2 separate regions of the Homo sapiens genome follow, and region 1 is linked to region 2. Evidence: promoter capture Hi-C in human tissues and cell types (Jung and others, 2019). All regions are on one chromosome and are shown on one strand. The core of a region is centred on a gene start or on the middle of the fragment in contact, and the rest is flanking DNA. Distances in the headings are between cores, read along the strand shown.

Region 1 (2,700 bases), core at 194-2,693, 70 kb after region 2:
TCACTGCAGCCTCAACCTCCCTGGCTCAGGTGATCCTCTTGCTTCAGCCTTCTGAGTAGCTGAGACTACAGACATGCACCACCATGCCCAGCTAATTTTTGTACTTTTTGTAGAGATGGGGTTTGCCATGTTGTCCAGGCTGGTCTGGAACTCCTGGGCTCACACGATCCACTCACCTCAGCCTCCCAAAGTGCTGGTATTACAGGCATTGTTAATGGTGGAGGGTGTCCAGGTTCTTGGCATCTTGAATGAAGAATTGGACAAAACGCACAAATAAAGCAAGCAAGGAATGAAGGGATTTACTGAAAATGAAAGTATGTTCCACAGCGTGGGAGTGGGCCCGAGCATAGGGGCTCAAAGGCCCCACTACAGAATTTTTGGGAGTTTAAATACCTGCTAGAGGATTCCATTGGTTACTTGGGGTAAGCCCTATGTAAATGGAGAGGATGAAGTAAAATGACAAAGTCATTGAGTTGGCCTACGCCCTATGGAGAGGATATTTCCTCTCATAGCTGAAGTGTGAATTGGCCTTATGTTCTCTGCCTCCAGAACCTATTTTTCTGCATCATCTCCCCCGTGAGGGATGTGATCTCCATAAGTCTTTATGGGAGGCAGAGGGACTGATGGTCTTTTTTCTGTAACTGCTTCATGTTGACTTGGGGATCATGGAACTCTCACCCTGTTCTGTCTAGTGGAGGTGGAGTAGCTTCTTGATGGCATTGGGGCGGTGTCTTCACCTGGAATTGGCTGGAACCTTTGTTGCATGATTATCTGAAGCTTGAAGGTCTCTAGGCAAGAGGAAATGAATTTGGTTAAAAGATTTAATGGGAACTTCAGGGGGCAGATACCTCCGCTCTTAGAAATTTTCATTATAGAGATTTGCAAGAGAAAAAACAAAACCTGGTCTGTTCTAGAATCTATGTGTTTCCTTAAAGTCTTAGCACAAGCAACTCCATTTTGGTTTGGTTTGGTTTGTTGGGGCCTAGTGCATGACCTTAGTCCAAAACAATGACCGCCCTAGAATTTTGTTTTTAAAATTCCCCCTTTATGGACAAGTTCTCACTTAGGTGAGAGTGTGACACAAACTTAGGGGCTTAACGCCACTCTCAGTTACCATTATTTTGGGTTTCTGGTCTCAGCACATCATTTATAGGTTACAGGGTCCTCATGGTCGCACATTTCTTTTAGCCCCTGTTATTCCAGTTGAAGGGAGACCATATGACATTCTAGAGATGGCTGAGTAAAAGTATTTAAAACCTTTGAGAGAATACAGTGCACCAGAGAGACTACTGGGAGGATAATACCAAGAGTTTGCAGTATGCTCCTCACCCAAGGTCTCCATAAACCAAACCACTTCAAATTAAATAGATCAAATAATGAGCTAGATAAAGTTTACTCTCTTGACTAAGCAATTTCTTCATCAATCCCCTACCACTGAATTTCTCTAATCTTCATTTGATGTAATTCCCCATAGGCCAAAATTGCCAGCAGCTGCACAGGTACTTTTCTGGTTAGCTAATTCTATTATTTAGCATAACTTTCAGAAGAGAATTTAAAGTCTGTTGTGTAAGTGTGGCCTATACAGTAAAGTTTGCTATGGAACCTATCATGAGGGATACATTTCTAATCATTGTCTCTTTTACTTTAAACCACATAAAAAGGACCAAACAAATGATACCCTTCTGGAAGTGTGAAGGCCTCCTGGCAATGTTCTCTTTCAACCCATGATATGGGTTAAGAGGAGTGAACCAAGGTTTTGTTTTTGATGATTGTGAGGCAACGTGTGTACCATTAAAGTTTCTTACCTACCTTGGCCGTTCACCTTTTATCTATCAAAGTATAAGATTACCCAGGTATAAGGCTGGCTGCAAACTCCTTCACAAATAAGAGTATACCCCATAAGGGTGCATAACAGACCCCTTTTCCATTTCTATTGTTCATAGAGGCATAAGCAAGAAAAAAAATTCAAAGATAAGAGTTTCATGATAGTAGAAGTCTCGATCTGTGAACTTGGGAAAAGCTGTTCACATCAAGGATGTCATCTTCTTCTTGGGAGAAGTTTCCGTGGTTAGCTTTTCCTCAAGGGTTCCAATGAATGCACAGTTCCAAAAGCGGGGAGGGACCCCTTCTCAGTTGTGAGACCATGAACCCGAATCCCAAGGCCCCAAAATTTTGTTGTAGTGTGGATGGCAAGGATAGTCTTTTTCTGACGTTTCCAGGAGATTCAAACCATAAAAAGCTTTCTTTACCTGGTGAAAATACACTGTAGCATAATAATCTACTGTTATAACATCATCCCTCTTGCATGGGAAAGCTTTTATACAACCAGAAAACATGCACTGAAAATTAAAATGGGATGAAATCCCTTTATAAAATGTTTAAGTTGCCCACCAGGCGACCAAATGTACCTGAAGCTTTAATTGTTTTCCCAGGAATATGGGATCAAGCATCGGTTATAAATTATTTTAGTAATTTGTAAGCCACTTTACCAATGTATTCAATTGGGATCATTATATCTTTTCCACGATGAGTCATGGAATGCAGAAGTTTTAATAATAAAAGCTTTAAGGACTCAGGAAGGACAAGATGGCCATCCTGTTTCTCCATGAGTCCATGTTTAGTTAACATTAGACTTATATCCTCTTGGATACCAGTTGTTTATCCAAATTAGGCACATAACACTGGCAAGAAAATTTCATT
Region 2 (2,932 bases), core at 147-2,646:
CCTTGGTGGCAGCAGGGCTGATTCAGGGACTCCGTCGTCATCCTGTGTGATGAAAGTGAGATCCACTGTTGCCCTCAGCTTGGACTCAACTAAATCTGTCAATGTGTCTTTGATGACAAAACCCGTAAGGTCCCCTTCCTTCTTAAAGGTTTTCCTGGCTGGATCTCAGCCCTGCTGTCTGTGAGAAACACCAGAGCAGTTTAAACAGTACAGAAAGGAGGGATTCACCCCAATGCTACTGAATCAAAATCGCCAGAGAGAGAAGCCTGTGGGGTCAGTATGTTTTAAAAGCTCCAAGTGATTTGACTACATAGCTGAGAATGGAAAGCTATGGCCTGGGCTGTGACTCCTCTCAAATGTAAGTTTATTTAAGAGAAAAATTTCTGGTGATTAAACTCACACCACATGAAGGCACGGCAATGGGAGGGAAGGCGGGTGTGTATTGCTTTGTCTGGGGGCTTCCTTCACTTTCCCTTAAAAATGGGATTGGCCCAGGCAGCACAGATAGGTTTGAAGTGGAAAACTTGAGCCTAGGGGTTAGGGGGAAGTGACCACCCACCCTGTTCCTCTGTCTCTTCCCTTCTATTATCTTCCCAGCCTAGAGCCCCACTGATGTATGATTGGCTCTGAACACTCCAAAAGCTCTTGAGAAAAAGAGTTAGGTTATTTAATCTTCAGATCAGCCCTAAGATAAGACGTGGGTGGCTACACATCACAGAAAGCTTGCTTTTTATAGATAGAAAATGTGAATCTTGGCCATATATATAACTGCACGTATAAACAAGATTCAGGTTTGGGAGTGAGGCAGGCTAGAGAACAGGTGCAGCAGATGTTTTTCCTCAGCATATCTTCTACAGGTGGGATGTATTCAACTATGTTTTCAGTACCTATGCAGTGAACATGGTGGTGATGGAAGGGGCTGAGGGGAAGGATTAGACTTTCCCAATGTGCAACTGAAACAAGCCTGCTTGTTGTCAGACATGCAGGGGGATCAAAGCAGGGTCTCCTTATGTCCCTGCTCTCCCATAAAGAGAACACAGCCTTCCAGCTTCCTGTGCCTTGTGAAGCCATAATTCACCTGTGCCCCTGCACTGCTACAAAGATAAAAAGAACTAATCAGCAAAAGCTCATAAGGAAATTGAGGATCCCAGGAACATTTCCAGATGTACCTGAACACTCACCTGGAGCACAGAGCAGAGTTCTCACAAGGCTGCTGTCTTGTGCTCCGCCCCACTCAGATGCAGAGATTCCTAAGGAGGTGACATTGATGGACGGCAGCAGCCCTGGCTTGGAAGGGCGGGCTGGGAGCCAGGCCTCATGACCTACCAGGTGCCCCGGTAGGTAGGACCAGCCAGGCTCCCTAGGTACAAATAGCCCTGGCCTCCATGACTACACAGGCTCCTGGAGTCGAATCCAAATCACTCATTGTGAAAGCTGAGCTCACAGCCGAATAAGCCACCATGAGGCTGTCAGTGTGTCTCCTGATGGTCTCGCTGGCCCTTTGCTGCTACCAGGGTGAGTACATCAGTCATGAGTCCAGCACCAGCCCCTGGGATGCACCCTCTTCTGAGCACAAGATCACCTATTTGTGCTTTGGGTTGGGGTCTGCACAAAACCAAACAAAATTCCAAACCCTTTTCTGTGCTTGTTGAATAAGATTCATAAAGGTTAGAGCTATTTCTTCTTTCTTCTTCCTTTTTTTTTTTTTTTTTTTGAGAAGTTTTGCTCTTGTTGCCCAGGCTGGAGTGCAGTGGCATGATCTTGGCTCACTGCAACCTCTGCCTCCGGGGTTCAAGTGATTCTCCTGCCTCAGCCTTCCTGAGCAGCTGGGATTACAGGCATGGGCCACCACAGCTGGCTAATTTTGTATTTTTAGTAGAGATGGGGTTTCTCCATGTTGGTCAGGCTGGTCTCGAACTCCCGACCTCAGATGATCTGCCCGCCTCGGCCTCCTAAAGTGCTGGGATAACAGGCATGAGCTACTGCGCCTGGCTGCTTAGAGCTATTTCTTCTAATCCCCAGTATCTAAGAAGTTTTATAGAAAAATCAGTTCAGGCAAATGTTAGGAATTCTTCTGCCTGAGCTTCACTTCTGAATGGGATCTGTGTCAGATGATGTAATGTGAGGTCTGGGGTGAACCTGGGCTTCGACACTTCCCACCCCTTGATCTTGGGCACAATGCTCACCCTCCTTGAGCCTCCTCTTATCACTGGTGGTTAAAGCTTCTGCCAGGAGTGGCTATGAGAATGAAGTAAGGTTATGGTTGTCAAGAGTCAAGCTGTGGGCCAGGCATGGTGTCTCATTCCTGTAATCTTAGCACTTTGGGAGGCCACAGTGGGCAGATCACTTGAGCTCAGGAGTTCAGCACCAGCCTGGGCAACATGGCGAAACCCCATCTCTACAAAAAAAAAAAACAAAACAAAACACACACACACACACACACACACACACACACACACAAAAGCGGGCATGGTGGCAGGCACTGGTAGTCTCAGCTACTTTGGGGGCTGAGGGAGGATCGCTTGAGCCCAAGACATTCAGGCTGCAGTGAGCCGAGATTGTGCCACTGCATTCCAGTCTGGGTGAACCTATCTCAAAAAAAAGAAAAAGAAGTCTAGCTGAGGATATGAAGCTCTTCCCTTTGTTGTGTGACCCGGAGAAAGTCACACCTGGAGTTTCTGGTATTGTCATCAGCACAATAATGGTATAGAAACATAGAACCCAGGGGATCCTGTCTGGTGTAACCTCAGGGAGCCATGAGAGAAAAATCGACTTTCCTAACATCAACAATATTTTTATTTTTGTGCTGCAGCCCATGCTCTTGTCTGCCCAGCTGTTGCTTCTGAGATCACAGTCTTCTTATTCTTAAGTGACGCTGCGGTAAACCTCCAAGTTGCCAAACTTAATCCACCTCCAGAAGCTCTTGCAGCCA

Evidence for each region. The method cuts DNA at HindIII sites, captures the fragments that hold promoters and counts their contacts. A contact is called where the count stands out against the background at its distance.
Region 1: a fragment that was not itself captured here is called in contact with the fragment with the promoter of SCGB1D4 in region 2 in 4 of the 25 tissues and cell types used here (H1 embryonic stem cells, heart right ventricle, mesenchymal stem cells and 1 more).

The regions. Positions count from the first base shown.
Region 1 is chr11:62,227,825-62,230,524 of GRCh38, reverse strand. No RefSeq gene overlaps it. Among named protein-coding and RNA genes, the nearest start is that of SCGB1D2, 13 kb to the left of the region's middle. The HindIII fragment of the contact is 5,846 bases long and covers 1-2,700 here.
Region 2 is chr11:62,297,539-62,300,470 of GRCh38, reverse strand. It overlaps SCGB1D4 (secretoglobin family 1D member 4), which reads left to right and starts at 1,396. Exons shown (of 3, transcript NM_206998.2): 1 at 1,396-1,515; 2 at 2,813-2,932. The coding sequence starts at 1,461. The HindIII fragment of the contact is 5,452 bases long and covers 1-2,932 here.